Regions from separate parts of the Homo sapiens genome. Here region 1 is linked to region 2. Evidence: promoter capture Hi-C in 16 types of primary human blood cells and fetal thymus (Javierre and others, 2016). All regions are on one chromosome and are shown on one strand. Each heading gives the region's core, a stretch centred on a gene start or on the middle of the fragment in contact. The rest is flanking DNA. Distances are from core to core; before and after follow the strand shown.

Evidence for each region. Contacts are between HindIII fragments. The CHiCAGO score rates a contact against its expected background, and 5 or more counts as called.
Region 1: a fragment that was not itself captured here is called in contact with the fragment with the promoter of RMI2 in region 2 in 6 of 17 cell types (activated CD4 T cells, naive CD8 T cells, fetal thymus and 3 more); the score reaches 17.2 in activated CD4 T cells.

Annotation. Positions count from the first base shown.
Region 1 is chr16:11,049,145-11,054,546 of GRCh38, forward strand. It overlaps CLEC16A (C-type lectin domain containing 16A), which reads left to right. Exons shown (of 24, transcript NM_015226.3): 18 at 2,369-2,497. Among named protein-coding and RNA genes, the nearest start is that of CLEC16A, 110 kb to the left of the region's middle. RefSeq lists enhancers at 1,188-1,764, 1,765-2,342, 3,355-3,504. The HindIII fragment of the contact is 733 bases long and covers 1,368-2,100 here.
Region 2 is chr16:11,343,627-11,348,757 of GRCh38, forward strand. RMI2 (RecQ mediated genome instability 2) reads left to right here and starts at 1,833. Exons shown (of 2, transcript NM_152308.3): 1 at 1,833-2,140. The coding sequence starts at 1,846. All of the region lies in intron 1 of LOC105371082 (a long non-coding RNA gene), which reads left to right. It overlaps LOC105371083 (a long non-coding RNA gene), which reads right to left and starts at 1,586. Exons shown (of 2, transcript NR_135174.1): 1 at 1,487-1,586. RefSeq lists silencers at 1,902-2,061, 2,082-2,161. The HindIII fragment of the contact is 15,776 bases long and covers 1-5,131 here.

The DNA of each region.
Region 1 (5,402 bases), core at 484-2,983, 290 kb before region 2:
TTACAGGCGCCCACTACTACGCCCAGCTAATTTTTGTATTTTTAGTAGAGACGGGGTTTCACCATGCTGGCCAGGCTGGTCTCAAACCCCTGACCTCGTGATCCGCCCGCCTTGGCCTCCCAAAGTGGTGGAATTACAGGCGTGAGCCACCGCACCTGGCAATTTTTTTTTTTAAATCCGTAAGGTGGGGGATCCCTACCTCATAGCCACCCAGGCTGTATATGAAATAGCCAACAAGAGGCCTCATGGGTCCATACACAACAACAAATACTCATGGGTCTATACACAACAAATACTTCCTCCCCCTCCCACCATGGGGAGCTTCCCAGGTTTTTTTGTTTGTTTGTTTGTTTGTTTGTTTTAATCAAACATGTATTGTGTGTCCTATACAATGCCTGGCATTCCAGAGAAATACAAAGGTGCCACGCCCTTGCTCTGTATCTGAAAATCAGTCCTCAGCCTTCAGGAATGCAGCTTCTGAGTGGAAGGGGGTGGGGACAGGCCCTCCAAGGCCAGCTGCTGTACCAAAGTCAGACCATGACTTGTGACCTTTCCTTCATTTCCCTTATTGCCTCTGGTTTAATGCAAAAGGTTCAGTGAGGTGATGGCCTAGCTCTGCCCCCAGCAGGCCTGAGGGGTTCACTGGGAAGGTTGTAGGGGGCAGCAGGAGTAGAGGGGAAGGGAGCTGCAAGTGAATGAGTGAGGCAGGAACTGCCACCCCTGCGGGGTTAGAGGATTTGGAGTGGGGGACCTCAGGCTTCTGGAGGAAAGTACTTAAAGTGTCCAAAAGAAGAAGGCAAGCAGCATGCACCAAGTGGCTCCTTGGCCCTCTGGCCCATTCACCGGGTGTCTCAGTATGTTTTCTGCAGCTATAACAGAATACCACAGACTTAATTTATAAAAAAAAGAAATTTCTTACAGTTCTAGAGGCTGGGAAGTCCAATATCAGGTGCCAGCATTTGGCGACGGCCTTCTTGCCACATCATCCCATGGTAGAATGCGAAAGGGCAAGACAGAGCAAGAGGGAACAGAACTCACTCTTATAACAAAGTCACTCTCACCATCATTGAGCCACACCTGCAATAACAACATTACTCCATTCATGAGACCCAATCCCGTCTTGTTAGGCCCTACCTCTCAGCACTGTCACACTGGGGATTAAGTTTCCAACACATGAACTATGGGGGACACGTTCAAACCATAGCACCAGGTATCTGGGCCACTGAGCCCTCGCTACATCCCTGCCCTATGTAGTCAGCTTTACCTAGCAGGAGGGGGAAAGTGGTATGTTTGAAGCCCACTTTCTGAAAAGAGAAGACACAAGGAAAGCTTGTGATGTTTGAAAGAGTAAAATGAATTCTGCAGAAAGCTTACCCTTCGTCTGTGAAGCCAGGGAAATGAAATGTTAGTGTTCAACAACACGTGTGCATTGATTACTACTACTGATGCAGCAGAGATCTGGGAGAGGTGGCAGGGAGGGGATGTCACCCTGTGTCTTAGTCCTCAAAGAAGGCTTCGCAGAGGTGGTGTGGAAAGAGGCCGTCAGCTCTGGCCCAGTGGCCGTGGGCATGCGCCTTTCCTCCTCTGAGCTCAGTGTCCCTTTTATGATGGGCCCACCAGCACCTGCCGTCCAGCAGGAGGTGATCCCAGCACGTGCCTGGCACTTAGTAGATGCTCCAATAATGATTGTGTTATATTATCCCAGGTAAGATGTGAAGGGGACAAGGAAGGAAGGGGAAACATTGGTCCTAGGGTGGGAATCACAGAGGCCCTGGAGCAAGACAGGCCTGGGCTCATGTCTTGGCTCTGCCACCCACCAGCTGAGCGACCTTGGATCCATTTTTCTGCTTCTCTGAGACTGTGTTCCCTCATCAGCAAAGTGGGAAGCAGCTCCTCAAAAGCCCTTAGGTCACAGCTTGCAGCGGAATCAGCTCTCGTTAAACGGAAGCTGCCATCGCCATAGCTGTTATCATCACTGGAAGGACAGAGAGGAGGAAGCAGGTGGCAGACGGGCTTGCACCCACAGGGATAAAGCATACCTGGCCTCCTGCTGAGAATCCCTGTCCCTGCTGAGGTGGAGAGAGAATGCGAAGAGGAGCAAGCTTTTCACAGCAAGGATGCAACTTCTCAAGAGTCTGAGCTGCTGCTTCAATTAAAGGAAAAATCTGCAATTTAGAAAACCAAAAGGCATATTGCTCCCTTATCTGGCTGCCTCTGTGCTTTACTTCAATCTAAATCCAGGATTTAGATCACTCATTTACATTTACTAAATGCGGTTGAAGGCGAGGGGCCTGTGCAACCTCCCCCGGCCCCTTCCTCCTTCCAAGTAAGGAATCTGCTTTGAGGTTTCCTGTAATGTCTCTTCTAGATGAAGCCCATGAACGTGGAATATCTCATGATGGACGCCTCCATCCTGCTGCCCCCAACAGGCACGCCACTGACGGGCATTGACTTCGTGAAGCGGCTGCCGTGTGGCGATGTGGAGAAGACCCGGCGGGTGAGTGAGCACAGGACCTGTCATCTCCTGGGCCACTGTTCTCCAGAACCACTCCCAGACCAGGGAGGAAAGGGCTTCTTTGTCAAAGTCAAGAGCCTGCCCTCAACACAGCTTAGACAGTGGATAGAGAGTACCCATTTGCCCCCAGGCATGACTTTCCAAGGCATGTTTTTACCCTTTGGGAAGTAGGGTTTGGCATTCCGTTGCATCTGGCACCCAGTGTTGGCTGCAGAGAGGTAGCCTTCACCAGTGCAGACAGACAAGCCCTGAGCTCAGGAGTGTAAGGCAATGGGGCCAGTTTTCTGTGAACCATCGGGGGTGAGCACGGTACATCCAGTGCAGGTGAGGTTGGTGTGAAATCGTAGCCCAGCGGTCTCAGGACCCCCAGAGATAGTGCGATGTTAAGGCATCTACCTGCTCTTGGGACACAGTCAAATTAAATGTGAATCTCACCAGCCTGCAGGACAGATATGTGTGAAAAGATTAGTTCTCAGAACCAGCTGCAGTGTGTGCTTCCGTTATCAGCCCTTTTTTTCCGAAGCAGGTACTCTAGGAAGCAGTGTCCTCAGGGGTGTTCATGGTATTTTATCTCCCGGGTAAGATCAGAGTTTCTTTCTTAGAAAGCACCATCACCTTTTCCTAGAAAATCATTCACTGGAGACATGAGTATTTGTGTATAGTTCAGAGGAATTCATTGCACACAGCTCCCCTTGTCAGCCTTTATCATCTGAGTTAATTCGTGTGTGACAGAGGTGTTTCACTTTTGGATTTTGCAAAACAGGAATGACCTGTCATTTGCACCTCAGACACGAGGAGTCTGAACCTTCCTCCCTGCAGCTGGTGGTTCTACCTCGGAAGCCTGGGGGTGCAGAGGAAGTGGGACCCATGTGTCTTGAGTCAATCCACATTTCCAACTGTCTGACCAAACCCACAAGCCTCACCGCAGGACCCACCCTGTCCGGCCCACTGACGCCTTCCTTCCATGTCCTCCCTGCCAGGCACACGATTCTGTTTGTGGGTGGCAGTGTTTGCACTGGACGTCCTGGCATCAGCTTTCACTGGAGGACTGGTTCTGACAGATGTGTATGTGTTGCTTCATGATGCTGACGTGCTCACCCCCAGCCAGGGCTACAGCATCCTGTGCCAAGAAGGCCCCACCTGGGAGATCCCCCCGCACCCCTGAGCCAGAAGGTCCAGAGGACTGAACGCTGAGCACTGCTGCTCTGGATTCCACTTTGCCTTTTTGTTGTTGTTGTTGTTGTTGTTGTTTTGGAGGCTGCAGTGAGCTGTGATCCATCCTGGAGTGCAGTGTTGCGATCATAGCTCACTGCAGCCTCAAACTCCTGGGCTCCAGCCATCCTCCCACCTCAGCGTCGGTAGCTGGAACTACAGGCACAAGCTACCACACCTAGCTAATTTTTAGATGTTTTATAGAGATGAAGTCTTGCTAAGTTACCCAAGTTAGCCTTGAACTCCTGGCCTCAAGCCATCCTCCTGCCTTGGCCTCCCAAAGTGCTGAAATTACAGACATGTACCACCACACCCAGCCCACACTCTACCTTCTTTTGGTTCACAGTTCATCAGGGTTTTTCTTACCACTTCTATGAACACATAGCCTCTGTTATGAAGTAGATCAATTCAAATCAGTTCTTTATGTGAATTTCCTCATTAAATTCTATAACCATCCTAGGAGATTGGCACTATTATTATCCCCATTTTACAGAGGAAGAATTTTTTTTTTTTTTAGACAGGGTCCTGCTCTGTCACCCAGGTTGGAGTGCAGTGGTGCCATCTTGGCTCACTGCAACACACTCTGCCCCCTGGGGTCAAGCAATCCTCCCACCTCAGCCTCCTGGGTAGCTGGGATTACAGGTGTGTGCCACCACACTCGGCTAATTTTTGTATTTTTTGTAGAAATGGGGTTTTGCCATGTTACCCAGGCTGGTCTTGAACTCCTGGACCCAAGCGATCCGCCCACCTCGGCCTCTCAAAGTGCTAGGATTACAGATGTGAACCACCACGCCCTGTCCACAGGGGAAGAAATTGATGCATGGAGAGGTCTGGTGATTTGCTCAAGGTCACCCAGCTAGTGAGTAGCTGAGCCACAAGTCAGCCCAGGCAATGTGGCCCCCAGAACCTAGACTCTTAGGCATTCTGATCCACTGCTTCCCACACTGCCTTCTTGAGATCTGCTGGCTCTGCTCAGGACACTGGGACAGCAAAAACACAGCCCCAGTCCTGAAGAAATCAGAGCCTTAGAGGTCAAAGTGGGAAGAGACAGTGGCAGGTCATGTGGCTCAGGCCATTATTCAAGCAGCATTAGGTCAGGTCACTAATCCCACCTGGAGCAGGAAGTGGGACAGGCATCAGATAGGGAGGCATAGGCCCAGAGACAGGTGGCACATTCTGGCACCAACACGGCAGTGATTGCAGCTGGAGCCCACAGGAGGATGTGATGAGGCTGGGGGTGCTGGCAGGAGCCAGATCACGGGAGCCTTGGAGCCCCTTGAGAACCTTGGCTGTCACCTCTTAACACAGTTTCATGACCTCATGCCCTGCTGGGCTGGGGCAGATGGTCCTGATCCACAGGCGAGAGATGGGAGAAATGCAGGGGCCAGTTTGTCAGGCATGTGGCAGAAGGGAGGTTGCTTCTTGTCTACTCTGAGCTGCTGTCTCCATCTGTCAAGTAAAATGTGCCTGCCTTTCCAGAGTTATCGTGAGGACTCGGCAGCAAGCCAATGGCAGGTCTCGATGATAGTCTTTTTGCCCCTCACATGTCACAGAGTTGCAGGTTCCCAGGGCTGTGCTGCCCACCTCCCTTGTCCTGGATAGGATGCACAACCCGAGTGGCTGGCTGAAGCACAGATAGAGAATATCTCAGCTTCTCTAGAGTCTCTTTGCCTGT
Region 2 (5,131 bases), core at 583-3,082:
CTAAAAAATACAAAAATTAGCCAGGCGGGTGGCGTGTACCTGTAGTCCCAGCTACTCAGGAGGCTGAGGCAGGAGAATCACTTGAACCTGGGAGGCGGAGGTTGCAGTGAGCTGAGATGGCACAACTGCACTCCTGCCTGGGTGACACAGCGAGACTCCGTCTCAAAAAAAAAAAAAAAAAAAAATCAAGCTCTTGCTGAATACTCTCTGAATGCCTGGTACTGCAGGAGGCCCTGGGAACTCAAAGTTTCTCTTAAGAACTGACCTTGACTTTAAGGATTGCCTGATTTAGGATCTGTGGACTTTGCTGACTGGGGACATCCAATTTTTAGGGAGAGATTCCTGGGAATTTTATTTGAAGGATGCACAAAAAGATTTAGCTTTTACGGGTGGATCACGAGGTCAGGAGATCGAGACCATCCTGGCTAACACGGTGAAACCTCGTCTCTACTAAAACAAAGTACAAAAAATTAGCTGGGCGTGGTGGCAGGCACCTGTAGTCTCAGCTACTCGGGAGGCTGAGGCAGGAGAATGGCGGGAACCTGGGAGGCGGAGCTTGTAGTGAGCCCAGATGGCGCCACTGCACTCCAGCCTGGGTGACAGAGTGAGACTCCGTCTCAAAAAAATAAATAAATAAATAAATAAAAAAGATTTATCTTTTAAGTAGGTCCACAGTGGATATATTTATAAAGTGAAAAATTGGAAATAGCCTTAATGTCCAACTGTAGGATATTGGTTTAATATGTGATAAGACAAATCGAGTATTATGCAGTCATTCAAGAGGAAGCAGATGGATATTTGCTGATACAGAAAGATGTTCATTATTAAGTGAAAACAATATACAAAACACTATTTGTATATCAGTAATAGGCCAGGCATGGTGGCTCACGCCTGTAATCCCAGCACTTTGGGAGGCCAAGGAGGCAGGATTGCGTGATCCCAGGAGTTCCAGACCACCTTGGGCAACATGGTAAGACCCTGTCTCTACAAAAAATACAAAAATTAGCTGGACGTGGTGGTGCACGCCTGTAGTCCGAGATACTTGGGAGGCTGAGGTAGGAGAATCACCTATGCCCGGGAGGTGAACGTTGTAGTGAGCCGTCACTGTGCCACTGCACTCCATCCTGGGCAACAGAGTGAGACCCTGTCTCAAAAAAAATACACACACATATTTTAAAGCCTAAAGGCTAATATACCCCAAAATTAACAGTGGGTATCTATAAGCGGCTTTTACAATTATTTTCTTGTTCTACATTTTTCCCCTATTTTTTTTACAATAAATGTGCATTTCTTGTCTGAAAAATAGCAATATATTTTATTAACCTTAAAATTATTTGATGCTATTAAAATATAACTGAAAATAATAATAAAAGAAAAGGCAAGTTTGCCAGCTCTCCCCGTCTCCCTCCCCAGCCTTATCTCCTGACTGGATTCTTGCTCACTCCCAATAAACACGGACTCTTAATTCGTTTCAGTATTTACTAACCTCAAAACAAGGCAATGTAAAGATGAATAATCATACTCTGTAGGTGATCTGCATCCACGCCAAATTTTGAGATGCGTTGAAAGAGGAAGTTCTTTACCTCTCTGCCTTCAATTATTTATTCTCGTTTAACCCATTTCCTCCGTTCATTCCTAACTTGAGGGCGTTTATTTACTTTTATCTACGCATGCGCACTCCTGGCTGCTAGAGAGGGCCTCTTCGCCCGGCGGTCCCGCCTTCTGACGTCGACCATTGGCCGGCTCTGCCAGCGCGCTCCTGATTGGTGGCTGAGGGCCGGGCCCCGCTGCTTCTCAAAGTTGGCGGGAAAGCGGAGGCGGGGCGGAAGGGTGCGGCGAGGCGGAATGGCGGCGGCTGCGGACTCGTTCTCAGGCGGCCCCGCGGGGGTGCGGCTTCCGAGGTCGCCGCCACTCAAGGTGCTGGCGGAGCAGCTGCGGCGCGACGCGGAGGGCGGCCCGGGCGCGTGGCGGCTGTCACGGGCGGCGGCGGGCCGCGGGCCGCTGGACCTGGCGGCCGTGTGGATGCAGGGCAGGGTAGTGATGGCGGACCGCGGCGAGGCTCGGCTGAGGGACCCGAGCGGGGACTTCTCGGTCCGCGGCCTGGAGCGGGTGCCGCGCGGGCGGCCCTGTCTAGTCCCAGGTAATGCCCGGGCCTTACCGGGCGCCCTCTTCCCTGCTGCCCGCCGAGAAGTTGCCGAGGCCAGATTCGATCTTGTTGTTGACACTCGAACGGGGGCGGGGCGGGTCTGGCCCTCCTCCGGGCCTCTGCCCCTGCGGGTCCCCGCTTGGGTACCCTTGCTCCGGTCCCTCCTTGGTGAAGTTGATCTGATGATAAGCATCACCTGCCGTCCCTTTTACAAATACAGATTCCTGGGACTCTCCCACCCCTAGTGGGAATCTTCTGGGGAGGGACTCCGGCACCTTCGTTTGTCACAAGCCCCCTCTCCCAGTTGATATCCTTGTTTTGGGAAATACTGTCCTGGGAAACTTCTGCTCATCCTTAACGTCTCAGCTCAAATGTGCCTTTCTCAGGGAAGTCCTCCCTAGCCCCTAGGAACGGGAGACCCTCCTGTACTTCTCCTTAATTGAACTGTCTTGGGCTGTAGCTCACTCATGTTTGCCTCCTCTCTTTTTTTTTTTTTTTTTTTTTTGAGACGGAGTCTCACTCTGTCGCCCAGGATGGGGTGCAGTGGCGCGACCTCAGCTTACTGCAGCCTCCACCTCCCGAATTCAAGCGATTCTCATGCTTCAGCCTCCCGAGTAGCTGGGATTACAGGCATGTGCCACCACACCCGGCTAATTTTTGTATTTTTTAGCAGAGACTGGGTTTTGCCATGTTGGCCAGGCTGGTCTCGAACTCCTGGCCTCAAGTGATCTGCTCATCTCGGCCTCCCAAAGTGCTGGGATTACAGACATGAGCCGCTGCGCCCTGCCTGCTTCCTCTCTTAAACCACTGATGCTCAAACTTGAGCCAGCATCAGTCTCTCCTGGAGGGCTTGGTAAAGCTGGGATGGCTGGGGCTCCACCCTCAGGGTTTGTGAGTCAGGAGGTCCAGGTGGGGCTGGAAATTTGCATTTCTAACCAGCTCCCAGGTGATGCTGATGCTGCTGGTCTGGGGACCATACTTTCGACTTTTTAAATGTTTTATTTATTTGAGATAGGGGACTCACCGTGTTGCCCAGGCTGGCCCTGAGCTCAAGCAATCCTCCTGCGTCAGCCTCCTTGGGTAGCTGGGACTACAGGCCTGTACCACCACGCCTGGTTTGGGGGCCATACTTTGAGAACCACTGGGCCAGCCCAAGCTACTGGAGGGCCAGAGCTGTGTGGTCCTGACAACTGTATCCTCAGCATCTGGCCCAGTTCCTGACACATAAGTGCTCCAAGAACCAATAGTCTTGAGTGATAGGCAATGGGCATCCATCTCACTTGTTCCCTGGGATGTCAGTTGAGCACGTGTTGTACATCAGCCCCTCATGTGCAGTGTTGGGCTGCAGCCGAGACCTAGATAGAGTCTGCTGGGAGACAGGCAGTGAGCAAGTGTCGCAGAGGATCGCTGATCTTTGGGGAGCCATGAGGATGTGCAAGGTGCTGAGTGGCCCGGGGAGGCTTCTAGAGGATGTGAGGTCTAAGCTGAGGAGCTCTGAGGCTCCATGGGCCTTCCCTCACCTCAGCTCCCTCTCCTGGGAAATCAGGCCAAGATCACTTCATTCCTAAGGGCCCTTCCTGCTCAGTCTTGGAGTCTAACTAGAGGCAGATAGGGCTGTGGTCTGGCCTGAGCTGCTGTGGACTCGGAAAGGCTTAGGTCGAATTTCTGGTTCCACCCCTTCCCAACTGAGCTGCCTGGAGCACTCTTGTTAACTTTTCTGGACTTGTACTATTTTGTAAAAAGGAGCTAATCATTCCTGCGTGTTGTGTGGATTCAATAAGTAAACAACTGCCTTAGTACTGCACCTGGCTCACAGTGAGGATGCAAAATATCAGGACTCGTTTACTGCCACATGCTCCTGTTCCGTCTTCCCACTGCCTTACCCATCAGCCTTCCCTCTGTCTGCCTGCCCTCAGCCGCAGCGTTGGTCTAGGACAGGGTCAGCAAACTACAGGCCTCCTCTTTTCATGTGTCCTGCGAACTAAAAATGCTTTTAAAATTTTTATGTATTACTATTATTATTTTTGAGACAGAATCTCGCTCTGTCTCTCAGGCTGGAGTACAGTGACGCAGTCATGGCTTGCTGCAACCTCCACCTCCTGGGTTCAAGCGATTCTCATGCCTCAGCCTCCCGAGTAGCTGGGATTACAGGTGTGCACCACCACACCCGGCTAATTTTTGTAGTTCTAGTAGAGATGGGGTTTCAACATGTTGGCTAGACTGGTTGGTCTGGAGCTCCTGGCCACCTTGGCCTCCCAAAGTGCTGGGACTGCAGGTGTGAGTCATTGCACCTGGCAGGATTTCACATTTTTAAATGGTTGAAAAGAAAATCGTGATATGTGAAAAGTATATGAAATTCAAGCATCAGTGTTCATAAGTTAAGTTTTATTGGAATACATTGGTAATTTACAGAATGTCTCGGGCCGCTGTCCCACCCCAGCTAGAATTTTATCTGGGACAGAGACCCTATGGCGGGAAAAGCCCAAAATATTTGTCTCGCCCTTTACAGAAAAAGTTTGCCAACCCTTGGCCTTAGCCTTGGCCCAGCAAGTAACCCATGCTGCTTGGTGTGTTGGTTTGCAGGCAAAGCACCTTGCAGGCAGGCTGGGGCAGTCTCCTATCTGGTCTCAGCCCTGGCATAAGCCTGGCATCTAGTAAATAAGTGTTTGAACCCATGGGCATTGGTGAACCTGTCTGACATACCCACTGGCCTGAATGCCAGCTGGCAGGGGCCATGTCATTTCTTCTTGTTAATTAATACTGAGTCCAGCTTGACAAAATTGAGTCACTGCCATCAGGGAGGCAGGGAGGTAAGCGGGCCACTAAAACACAAAGTAACATTGCAGGCAAGAGTGAGGTGGCGCAGAGGAGGGACAGCTGATCTAGGTTTGAGGGCTCAGGGAAGGCTTCCTGGAAGAGGCAGCCCTGAAGGATGCATTGGAGTTATCTGTAAGGACCAACCCTCCTGGGTTGCCTGGGACTGAG